Linked DNA regions of Homo sapiens: region 2 is linked to region 1. Evidence: promoter capture Hi-C in 16 types of primary human blood cells and fetal thymus (Javierre and others, 2016). All regions are on one chromosome and are shown on one strand. Each heading gives the region's core, a stretch centred on a gene start or on the middle of the fragment in contact. The rest is flanking DNA. Distances are from core to core; before and after follow the strand shown.

What was found. Contacts are between HindIII fragments. The CHiCAGO score rates a contact against its expected background, and 5 or more counts as called.
Region 2: the fragment with the promoter of LYRM4 here is called in contact with the fragment with the promoter of NUP153 in region 1 in 1 of 17 cell types (total CD4 T cells); the score reaches 7.3 in total CD4 T cells.

What each region holds. Positions count from the first base shown.
Region 1 is chr6:17,705,233-17,711,916 of GRCh38, reverse strand. NUP153 (nucleoporin 153) reads left to right here and starts at 4,992. Exons shown (of 22, transcript NM_005124.4): 1 at 4,992-5,640. The coding sequence starts at 5,530. NUP153-AS1 (NUP153 antisense RNA 1) reads right to left here and starts at 4,874. Exons shown (of 3, transcript NR_134618.1): 1 at 4,789-4,874; 2 at 4,291-4,523; 3 at 890-1,128. RefSeq lists enhancers at 4,801-5,070, 4,880-5,574 and a silencer at 5,161-5,670. The HindIII fragment of the contact is 5,135 bases long and covers 3,262-6,684 here.
Region 2 is chr6:5,256,840-5,262,806 of GRCh38, reverse strand. It overlaps LYRM4 (LYR motif containing 4), which reads left to right and starts at 1,857. Exons shown (of 3, transcript NM_020408.6): 1 at 1,857-2,159. The coding sequence starts at 2,074. It overlaps FARS2 (phenylalanyl-tRNA synthetase 2, mitochondrial), which reads right to left and starts at 1,294. Exons shown (of 7, transcript NM_006567.5): 1 at 1,147-1,294. RefSeq lists silencers at 1,777-1,996, 2,057-2,366 and an enhancer at 2,577-2,626. The HindIII fragment of the contact is 1,910 bases long and covers 807-2,716 here.

The sequences.
Region 1 (6,684 bases), core at 3,743-6,242:
TTAGTAGAGACGGGGTTTTGCCACGTTGGCCAGGCTGGTCTCAAACTCCTGACCTCGGGTGATCCGCACATCTTGGCCTCCCAAACTGCTGGATTACTGGTGTGAGCCACTGTGCCTGGCTTGAGTGTAGCATTTTTAAGGTGAATTATCAGTGTTAAGTGCTAATGATTAATAGATTATAAAATAGTAAACTTTAGTATAACTCAATAAAATGGTAAAGTGTAGCATAATATGTAGACAGAGATTGTTTTACAGTTTTGTATACTGACATACTAAATGCCAAGACTAGAAACCAACACATAAATATCTCAATAAATATTTGTGTTTTAATGAATTAATCTCAGTTAATTCATTAACTGTCTTAAATGTTAGGATGGGATTGCCTTCCTAAATTTGGTTATTATTTCATCCAATAAAACTGAGTTTCCATTCAAGATTGAATTTAAAATATGCCTTAAACTATAATGTAATGTACATAAACACATATATACCAAAGTCTAGTATACATTGATACATGTAGTCAGGAAGAGGAAATATATGGCATGTTGGAATCAAGTGATATATGTAGTTAATCAAAATTTGCTCATATTAGTTAATTTAGTCTTAAATATTACTTTATTCCCAATAGAGAGAGAACACAGTAAGTTAATGAGAATACAATGATTTACATCCTTAAATATCTTTCCGTTGTGTGGCCCTTCTTTCCCTAAAATACAAGCAAACAGGCAATAAATAAATAAATAAATAATAAATAAACCCAATAGCTTCATTTTCTTTATTTTTTTCTTTAGAGATGGGGTCTCACTCTGTTACCTAGGCTGGACTGCAGTGGTGAGATCATAGCTCGCTGCAGCCTTAGACTCCTGGGCTCAAGTGATCCTCCTGCCTCAGCCTCCCTAGTAGCTGGGACTACAGGTGCACACCACTAAGCTCAACTAATTTTTTCATTTCTTTGTAGAGAAGGGGTCTCGTTATGTTGCCCAGGCTGGTTTCAATCTCCTGGCCTCAAGTGATCCTCCTGCCTTGGCTTCCCAAAGTGCTGAGATTATGGGTGTGAGCCACATGCCTGACCAGGAATACACTTTAAAATAATAAAGTATGGTAGCAACAGGAAATGGCAAGGAGTGCCTGTTAAAAAAAAAAAAAAGGTATAGTAAATACATAAACCAGAAACAGCCACTTATCATTATGAAGTATTCTGTACTGTACATAATTGTACATACTCCACTTTTACACAAATGGCAACACAGTAGGTTTGTTTATACCAGCATCACCACAAACACGTGAGTAATGTGTTGCAATAAGACCTTAGGACAAAGACAGTATCACCAGGCAATACGAATTTTTCAGCTCTTTATGGGACCACCATTGTATATTGGGCCCATTGTTGATTGAAACATTGTTATGCTGTGCATGAGTGTGATAATTTGTTTTAATAGACATCACAGCAGATACCTCATTTTGTTTTGGTAAGGTGGAATAACTACATAAAATTTCGTAACTTCTTGTACTTGTCATCTTTAAACATTCTTTTGGCCAGAATTGTATTAGTACCTTCTGAAGAATGTATGATGGCTCTTTTTCAATCTAGGTTGGGTTTAGACTAAATTGTATTTCACTTTTAATTAGTGGATACTCCTTATCTATTAGAGATGGGTCAGCAGCCTATTTGCTAATTTATAATTGGCAGCTGGTTACATATATATATATACATATATATATATATTTGTTGTTTTAATTTTTTAATTTTTTTGATATGGAGTCTCACTCTGTGGCCCAGGCTGGAGTGCAGTGGCATGATCTCAGTTCACTGCAACCTCCACCTCCATGGTTCAAGCGATTCTCCTGCCTCAGCTTCCCGAGTGGCTGGGACTACAGGTGAGCACCACCACGCCCAGCTAATTTTTTTTTTTTTTTTTTTAAGTGGAGACAGGTTTCACCATGTTGGCCAGGCTGGTCTCGAACTCCTGACCTCCAGTGATCCACCCGCCTTGGCCTCCCAGAGTGCTGGGATTACAGGTGTGAGCCACTGTGCTCGGCCACTTTCTACTATATTATATGGGGAACAAAATAAAGAAGTTTCTTGGCAGAGGAGGACTATTGTAGCAACAAGCTTTTCATGAATTGCAGTGTCTCCCAATATGCCATTTATTTGGCTGAAAAAACTAGGTCCAGGTTGAATGCAGATTTCCTCCTGTCTCTTTATTCCTTCTCTGCTCTCAAGCCTGGCACGGCTTCCAATGACTCAATCACATGAATGTGAGATTAATGCATTATAGTTCCCTCAAATACTATTTTACTTCCAAGAAATAAAATAATTGTGGAAATGGGTAAAAAGTTGAGAGCATGGGTAAAAGGAATGTGGATTTTCCCATATCTCCTCAAGTTCTACCAATCTTCTATTTCTGAAGCATTGTCTACATTTGGCCCAATTCTTTCGCGTCTCTCTTCCTTTCAAAGGTTGGCTGTGAAGGGTGTCCAGCACATCAAAGAATAGCCTCCAAGAAAGGGGTGAGCTTTGATTCCAGTCAGTCCTCTGTTCTGTGGTGGAAACTCTGGGTCTCATAGAGTGAAGAGGGCAGATGGGATGTGGCTATGGTTTAATCTCCTCTACGTATAACCCAATTAAAGATTCAGGTACAGATCTTCCCTATGAGTTAGCTTATCGTGAATTACTTTACTTGGCTGTCAAATATCTAGCTATGGATTTGTGGAAGAATAGGATTTCTGCATAGGAGGAAGATAGCACCTGAGGGAAACAACTGTCTTTAAGAAAGATGAAGTGCTTCAGGAGGAAGAGGGGGCATACCTGGAGAATTTAGTGGGAAGTTAGTGGTGGGAGGAGGCATGAAGCTAGGATGAGACAGCGGAAAATAGATTAATTTTGTTTATCATATTTGGCAACTTGTCTTGATCTTGATGGTTATGGTCAGAGGTGCCACTGAAAGCCATTGATGTGTACACCTATGCTTGGTATAGCATAGTTTCTTTAGGCGCTGAAAGGTACAAGTTCAAAGGTACTAGAAGACTGGCTTTACAATTTCACTTGTATGATTTAAACAATGAACCTGAATTGTGCAGTTTGATTGTGGAGATAGTATAAATGTCTTGGAACTAATTATTTATATCTGATTGATGGTTGATATTGGATGCTTTCTATCTAAGCAGTTACTATGAACTAGATATACATTAATCCTTTCACCAGACCACTACCCTGTGAGGTCAATATTCGCTCTATTTGCTGATGAAAAAAACGAAGCTTAGAAACAGGATCAGTGGGCTGGGCGCGGTGGCTCACGCCTGTAATCCCAGCACTTTGGGAGGCCGTGGGCAGATCACCTGAGATTGAGAGTTCGAGACCAGCCTGACCAACATGGAGAAACCCCATCTCTAGTAAAAATACAAAATTAGCCGGCCGTCGTGGCACATGCCTGTAATCCCAGCTACTCGGGAGGCTGAGGCAGGAGAATCGCTTGAACCCAGGAGGTGGAGGTTGCTGAGATTGCGCCATTGCACTCCAGCCTGGGCAAAACAAGAGGAAAAAACTTCGTCTCAAAAAAAAAAAAAAAAGAAAGAAACAGGATCAGTAACTTCCCCAAGGCTACACAGCTAGTAAGTGGGAGATTTATAGTAAATAGGCTGGGCGTGGCGGCTCACACGGGTAATCCCAGCACTTTGGGAGGCCAAGGCGGGTGGATCACTTGAGGTCAGGAGTTCAAGGCCAGCCTGGCCAACATGGCGAAACCCCATCTCTACTAAAAATACACAAATCAGCTGGGCGTGGTGGTGCACGCCTGTAGTCCCAGCTACTTAGGAAGCCGAGGCAGGAGAATAGCTTGAACCTGGGAGGCAAAGGGTGCAGTGAGCCAAGATCGCGCCACTGCACTCCAGCCTGGGCGACAGGGCAAGACTCTGTCTCTCAGAAAAAAAGAAAGAAAGAAAGAAAGAAAAAAAAAGATTTATAGTAAGTCTAAGATTTTTCACAACATATTTTTCCTCCCTAATCATTTGGCTATTTGTCTTTAGCTCTTACAGAAAAGTTGGGTTATAGTCCTGGCTTTGATTACCCATCTCAGTGTCATTGATTGTGCCACCTAAATTTCTCTGGACATCTTGTCTGGTTGGTTGAATGAGAGGGTTGGACTATGTGATCACCAGGACCTTTCTAATCGTCAACTCCTAGAATATACATTTTGTGGATTCAGTCTTTGAGTCTAGCTCACTTACTCAGTTTCCTAAATATTTGGAGCAAATATAGTATACTTTTATTGTTAAGGATATATCACTTACCCCTAATGTTAGCTGACTGCATGGGTTATAATTGTAATCATTCATCGCATTTTTCGTCTATTAGCAAATATACATGCTCTCCATAGATGATCACGTCTGCTCCTCACAACAGCTTTATAAGGTGGATTTTAAAGCTCCCATTTTATGGAGGAGGAAGCTAAGGCTCAGACGGTTTTGATTCATCCAAGGTCAAATAGGTTGGGTGGCAGAACCAGAATTCCAGCCCCGTGTGTCTGCAACAAAACCTTTATATGTTTAAAGAAACATTAATGAAGCCGTATATATTTTCTAATTCTAAGGATCATGGACTTTATTTTTCAACCACAGATTTTTTTTTCCTCCTTCTTAAATCATTAGCTCTTGTCTTTGATTTTACTGTCTGCTTACTTCCTGCCTACTTAACCAACCGACAGGGAGAAGGAGAATGGGAAGAGGTTACTGTTTTTATGTTAAGTGTCTTTTCAAAGTCTAATTTACAGCCAAGAACAGCAAAAGTACCCCTTGGCTTTGTGCCTCTGCGGCGCCCCGGAGATCTCCTTCCCCGTCCCTCTTCCTTTCCGAGAAGCCGCGTTCCGTTGTTGAACTACGTTTCCCAGCGTGCCGCGCGGCCGAGAGCGTGGACTCGACCAGCCCTTCCTCTTTGCCTATCAGCTCGTCGCAGCATGATGATGCAAATGCGTCGGGCGCCGATGAGTGACGACATTCTGGCTCGCGACCGCGGCAGCCGCCTTAGCAGGGGTAATAGGCGCAACGGCGGCGGAGGCTGCAGGGACGACGACGACGACGGCGGCGGGGCGGGCGCTGTGCGCACAGGGGAGGGGTAGGCGGGCGTCGCCAGCGGCTTCAACTGCGGCAGCTACGGCTAGGGCGACGGAAGAACTCCCACCAGTCGGCGGTCGAGTTAGGCCTCAGCACCGCGGGGAACTGTTCGTGCTGTCCTCTGCGGGAGATCTCCATAGAGACCGTGACACACACAGAGGCGGGGGTCCGCAGAGGCGGCCGGACCGGAGCCTCCTCGGCCTCTGCGGCCGCCACCCCCTTCCCCGCTGCCAGCACTCACCCTCTCTCCGCTCCTGCTCGCAACCTCGCGGTTCCTGGGGTGCTTGTGCCCACTGTGTGGACAGCGCGGGCGGACTTTTGGGCCGGGGCCGGGCGGCGGGGGAGGCTCTCTAAGGCCTCCGCCTCTGCCTCTCCCGCCCCCTTACCCGCCCCGGAGCGGGAAGCGGCGGAGGCTCCGCCATGGCCTCGGGAGCCGGAGGAGTCGGAGGGGGCGGTGGCGGCAAGATCCGGACGCGGCGTTGCCACCAGGGGCCAATTAAGCCTTACCAGCAGGGGCGACAACAGCATCAGGTATGGGACCCCGACGCCGCGGTGGCCTGGCGGGTGGGGAAACTCGGCTGGAGGGGACGGGCGGTTCGAGGCCCCGGCGCCCCACGTGGAGCAGACAGGAGGGCCTGAGGAAAGGCCCGAGTGAGGCTCCGGGGGAGCTCAGGCCGTTGGGGGTGGCGACGGGAAGTGGGCTGAGACAGGCCCAGCCTTGCGGCGCACACGTGTGGTTTGGGCCGCCTTTCCCCCAACTCTCTGGGTCAGGGGCTTTCCCAGGCAGGCTCTGGGCGGGAAAAGAAATTGTAGGCCCATGATGCGCGCGTTTCTTTATTTTTTGGCGGGGATTTGGAATTTGAGGGTATTACTCATGTTCTCTCGAGGGAGAAAGGAAAAGATGTGGTTGATGGCCCTTATACTTGCTGTTTTCTGGTGTCCCTTCTTTAGTGTGTTTGAGGAGGGGGGGCTGCCCCTTGGAATCTTAACTCTGGGGCAGACGGGGAGTTGTGGGGGGCGCTGTTACATGGAAAGTGGAATAACTTAGTCTCAGCCTATGAGTTAATTCTCGGTTTCCCCTGCCTGTGGCCCTCCTCGTCTTGAGAGCATTGGCTTAGATTTTATTAACCAGGTTATAGTTAACCGTGGCACTGGGGCATTTTGAAAGTCCCTCTCCACCCTTACGTCTTTTCTCTGCTGCGCGACTCCCCTCCCCCCCCCCAACACCGCCACCCCCGCCTTTATTTTGGAGGCTGGAATTGGCCATTCTCCACAGTTGACCGGGACTCCAGCTCTGATCTCATACACAAAATATTTTAATATTATGAGGCGTATTCTAGAAGTATAGTTACTTTTGACACTCCAGGAATGTTGGTGGTCTTATAGTTTAGCCACTGTATGAACTCCTGGATGTTTAAAATTATAAAAAAGGATTATCCTAATTGTAAATGAGATAGTTGATTCTGAGAAAATTCCATTTTTAAAATATTGATTGTTAGAAGTATTGAATAGGAAAATGTTAACTTATTTTAATAAAGCCACTTATCAGTGATACTGAGGTGGGAAGTGTGTGTC
Region 2 (5,967 bases), core at 608-3,107, about 12 Mb after region 1:
TTTAAAAAATAATAATAAACAATAACAGACATGAGATTTTCAAGAAATCAGGGAGGAGACTTAAAGATATCTTAATAAAAGTATTTTCTCTTCAGTGCCTTTTAAAAAATGTCATTGCATCAGGATTAGTAAGAATATCTGGATGCAAGGACACCAGGTTGCAAGTACACTAAAGAATGGTAAGGTCAGAGAAGTGTTTTTTCTGCCTTTAAAGTTCCTGAAAATAGAGGCTGGGCGTGATGACTCACACCTGTAATCCCAGCATTTTGGGAGGCCGAGGCGGGCGGATTGCCTGAGGTCAGGAGTTCGAGACCAGCCTGACCAACATGGTGAAACCCTGTCTCTACTAAAAATACAAAAATTAGCTGGGCGAGGTAGCGCGCGCCTGTAATCCCAGCCACTCAGGAGGCTGAGGCAGGAGAATGGCTTGAACCTGGGAGGCATAGGTTGCAGTGAGCCCGAGATCCCGCCACTGCACTCCAGCCTGGGCGACAGAGCGAGACTCCATCTCAAAAAAAAGAAAAGGAAACAGAAAAGTTCCTGAAAATATAAAGTTGTTTAGACATACAGCAGGTATATCGTTTCAAAACCAAATACACTAAAGCAGATGAGAACACAACCGTGACCAAGTGGTTCGGAGAAAGATGGATTTTAATGCAAAGTTGTTTTGTTTTCACGCATAACGTACTTCTCGCTGTGCTTGAGTGCAGAAAGGTGTGGTTCTTCCTAAGGTTGATTACATAAAGCAAGATTCCAAAAACAAGAAAAGTGCTTTGCAAACACAGTAACTAGGACTGGCTGAAGCTTCCTGCGTCCAGTGCCATGCTCAAAGATCAGAACAAGCAACTTTATCCACCACTTTAATAAGATGATTCAAAAAAGCTGCAGTCTTCTGAAGAAAGCCATGGTTGAAAACTTGCTCCGCTTCTTGGAGAAAGCCTAAAGCCCTAAAGGTCTCTAATTATTCTCCAAAGTCTACAACCCAAGCTGCATTTTATGCATTTATTAGGTTACAAAACCACGGGAACTCTTCACTCAAAAGCAAAAACACATCCGGAAAGAGGAAAAAATCCACGGCCAATGTAAACCCCCTACAACACCAACCGCCCACGTCGTACCCCAGGCTGCAATGAGGCCGGCACTCACCCACCGCTCGCCCGGGAAGCCCAGACCCAGGTGTTTCAAAATCAGAAGTACGGCAGGCTCGTTCGCTCTCACGGGCAAGAATCTTAAACCCCAACTTCAGAGATACCCGCGCACGCTGGGCGCTGCCATTTTGACAGAAAGCGGGCCTGCCCCAGAGGCCCCTACGCAGGTCGCCCTGAGCAGAGCCGGAGTGCCACAGAACCCCTAGCTCATCACCTCCACACCCAGACGTCGCATCCCCCGGCCTGAGGAATGCCAAGAAACCCCACCCTGCCGACCAGGATCAGGCGAAATCAAGTCACCCTTGAAATCCCGCAAACTCTCTCAGGCAGCGCCGAGGGCGACCGCAGCCGGCGTGGGAGGGGCATCGGCGGTCAGGGGCGGGGCGTCGGTGCGGCGGCCTTCGGTAACCCGGGCAACGCGGCCTCCTGGATGTAGGAAGGGGCGCTGCCCCCGAAACACAAATGTCTCCGCCAAGACCCCAGACGGTTCCCAAAGGCTCTCCGTGATGCAACTGCACGTCCCTCGAATGCCTGGGCCTCCGATATCCGTCCGCCAGGAGCTTGGCTGGATGCACGGGCGGCCAGTCCTCTTATTTCCCCGCCCTCCCGCCGCGTGGAGCGGCTGCTGGGTCCCGAGCCTCCGGGCGGGGGCGGGATCGGGGCGGGGCGGAGGCATCTCCCTCCCAGCACCGCCCCCTTAGCTGCCCCGAGCCCTGCCTGCGCCCGCCCCCGAAGCGGCGCGGGACGCCTGGCGCCGTCCGCGATCCGCAGGGCTGCCCGCTTAGGCTTAGGCCCGGCCCGCTGGCAAAGCCGAGCCGCAGCATTTTATTTCGTTCGTGGTTTCCGCACAGGCTGGAGTTTCGTGGGTTGGGTCGTACTTGGGACCTCGGCGAAGAGGACCCGTTTATTTTTTTTTCTTTCCAAAATGGCAGCCTCCAGTCGCGCACAAGTGTTATCTCTGTACCGGGCGATGCTGAGAGAGAGCAAGCGTTTCAGCGCCTACAATTACAGGTGACCCAGCGGGCACCGGGGGCCGGGGGCGGGGGGCCAGGGGCCGGGGACCGGGGGTGCGGGCTGACGCGGAATATCCCCGGGGACTGGGAGCCACCGTGGTTTGCCGGCGGCTGCGAGGCAAGGACCGGGCTCCGCCATCGAAAAGCGTGCTCCTGCCTACAGGTGTGGCCTCTGAGACCTCGGGGAGGAGCCTTTCTTTCTACCAGGGGAGACGTTCATGTCTTGTGACGTTTTCCCCCTAAAGGCTATCTTGGTAGTTATTCTAGGAGCATGATTAGTGTTATGTTTCTGCAGAAGAGAAAAAAGGGATGGAAATCAGTCATTTGTGAAGTTAAGGCCAGTGTGTTGCATATGTAAAACTTCCCTTGAGCACTGGAAGAGTTGAGAGTGGAAGTGGCCAGTGAGTAGTACACTGCGACAAAGCTGAAGGCACACTCTAGCACCTCCCTAAAATTTCCTAGGTGTCGTAATGAGTTCTTTTGGTTGCAAGAATCCATTCTATTTAGGGTATGGTGGAAATGCGTAGCGGAAAAGGAAAAAGGGTCTCACAAGCTTTGGAGCTGAAACCTCAGTTTCTCCTGGCTCACCAGACAGAGATCCCGCTTACTGGACCTTGACAGCAGGATATTGAGGGCCTAAACTCACATCTTTAATATAACACATTCACTTTTTCTCACGCCTCCCCACTCCCCTATTTGCCTATGAGTCTTTTATTGTTACTCTTTGTATGTTTTTTCTAATTCAGAGCCTCTGCTTTCACAGTGTTGCTGGTTCTGACCCATCATTTTCTTATGGATTCTCTCTCTGCATTTTTTTTTAGATTTGTTTTTTGTTTTGTTTTGTTTTTACTAACTACCTGTCTCTCTCTGAGTTTGAGCCATATTCCCATGAGAAAGAATCTGGTTGGATCAACTCATCTCTTTACCTCAAGCCTCACTTAGGTGACTGGCCAGACTGTGGATTGGATGTCATAAGAGCAGAGCCTACCCTTGGAACACACCTGGTTAGGTAGGCCCCCCTCCAGCACGTGTGTGAGCTGGCAGGCCCTGAGATGGGTCTGCCCAGTACAACCTCTGTCAGAGGACAGGAACGCTAAGCCTCTTAAGCAATGACTCTCAAATTTTTAGAAACCCGCCTGGAAAATATACTCATGCTGCAAATTTGAAAACAGCATCTGGGTCATACCACTGAGGTTGTATCCACCCAGTTAAGTGGTTAAATTTCACGGGAGAGAATGATTTTACTTAATGACTTTGACTTTGGAGAATAAAGAGTGTAATAATAAGCATACTGGTGGAATTTTAGCAAGAATTAACCAAACACCTAGCACCAAGTACTTAACCAAGTCTGTTGAGGAAACACATGAAATATGCAAGTTAAATAAATAGAAACCATTTGATTTCACCATAGTCTGGAGTAAAATAGTTTGTCATTAAAGCTTACTCAGGATACACAAGGACTTGGAATCAGCAGGCAGTTCACACACTAAGGAAAGTGGCAGGGAGAGGGTTTATGTGAGAGCATGTAAGAAAGTCAAGGTGGAGCCCTCGAAGACTAACTTGGACAAGTCTCTCAATCTCTGTATTTCAGTTTTCTTGTTTATGAAATAGACTGTTGGACTAGACAATCTCTAAGGACCCTTCCATTTCTGAAATTCTCTTTGGAAATGATTTATGAGCAAATGAGGCCCAAGCGTTTTCAAATGAGTAATTGCCAACTGAACAGGAAAATCATTCACGAAACTCAACAGGAAAATCATTCAAACTTTAGGAAAATCATTCAAGACTCTACCTGAAAGGCAGAAAATTGAAAATGGGTTTCAGTATGGGCAACTGTAAGATCATATGCATTCAGAAAATAATTGATCAAATTATACCTTAAGCATATACTTTTAAGCTAAATTTACTATCCAAATATAAATATATTATCCAAAGGAATCTGATAATCATTTTATACTGTTACCTGAGATCATAGACCTAAAAACCGACATTCCTGCTATTACCTCCCTAGATAAACTTACTTGTTATAAAAATACGTCCTTTTACATTAAGGCTGTGTCTTGTGAATTTCAGGAAAAGTCCCTTCCCTCCTCTCTAATCTCTGCAGCTGTTTGTCACTGATGGCAAATCAATAGCAACACAACATCCACTATCAATTCTGTGTGCCACTGCTATCTTATGTTCTTCATGTCTATTAACACATTTGTTTTGACAATAATCTTGTGAGGTAGGTACTATTTGTATTACCCTGTAAGGCAACTGAGGCACAGGGAGCTTAAGTTACCTATCAAAACTAACACAGGTAGTGCTGAATAAGCAATCAAAAGCAGACTAGTAAACGTTTTTTAATGACCTGCGAATTGTGCCTTAAGTAATTAGAGTAGTGAAATAAATACTTTGGAACTCTCTTGCAAGACCTATAATATAGGCCACGTTTTGATAGCAGGAGCCCTGTCTGCTCCTCCAGTCTCAGCCTAAGTCCCACATGTGCATCCTGTCCTCTGTCATCATCAGTTGCAGTTTCCTAAATGTGCCACGTCCTGTTGGGCCTCCAGGCCTTTACAAGTACTGTTCTATCCAGCAGGCCCTTTATCACTCCTGTCTAGAGTGCCCCCTCTTCCTTCAAGATTGAGCTCAATTGTCACCTTCTCTGAACAAAAGTTTTCCCAACTCTCTTCATCCCACAGCTTCCACTCCCATCCCTCCCACCAGCCAAACAGGTCTCATTGCTGTGTGTCATTCTTTTACCTCAGTGCTTCTACAAAACATCTCTGAAGCATGCTTTGCCCAGTGCTATATCACAGCTATCCCCAACCTTCTTGGCACCAGGAACCAATTTCATGGAAGACAGTTTTTCCATGGACCGGGTCAAGGGAGGGGATGGTTTCGGGATGAAACTCTTCCACCTCAGATCATCAGGCATTAGATTCTCATAAGGAGCATGCAACCTAGATCACTCACATGCACAGTTCACAATAGGTGCACCTATGAGAATCTAATGCCGCCGCTGATCTGACAGGAGATGGAGCTCAGGCCATAATGCGCACTCACCCACCGCTCAACTGCTGTGTGGCCCGGTTCCTAACAGGCCACGGACCAGTACTGATGGGTTGGGGACCCCTGCTATACCAAGCCCTGGAGAGAGAAAGATGAGATTTTTGAACTAAGCTAGGCACCTGTTATCAATGGCTTTACAGGCCTATGTGGGACACAGGTACAGAGATAGTTGTCACAGACTGGGTTAAGTGCTGTGACAGAAGGATGTACAAGGTGTGGAATCTAGAAGGCCTCCCAAGGGGTGATGTTGGATCAAAGGCATGAAGCAGCTTGGTGTGGTCAGGCAGGCAAACAGCACAGCACTGCCAGGGAGGTAAGTATGATGGGGTTGGGGGGGCGGTGACAGGAAGGCACTGAGGTTGGAGAGGGCCACTGATTTGAGGGCCTGGGGGCCGTGCTGAGGACCCTGGACTTTACCCTTAGCTCACAGGCAGCCACTAACCTGACATGACCAGATTTGCATTTTCTGATAGATCACTCTGGCAGCAGTGTAGAAGATGATTTTGAGGGGCCAAGGACATCAAATGGGAGTTGATTACAACAGTGCAGAGTAGAGATTAGGACGCTAGTAAGGACAGGAATAGTGGAAGATAGAGAAGAATGTTGTATTTGATAAATCATTAGAAGGGAAAATTGTTGGAACTGGAATGATTGGATTGAGGACTAAGGAAGAAGAGAATCCAAGCAGAGTCTAGAATGGCATCCAGGTTTCTGGTTAAGCTAAAGCACAGAGAGGGTGAATTTAAACT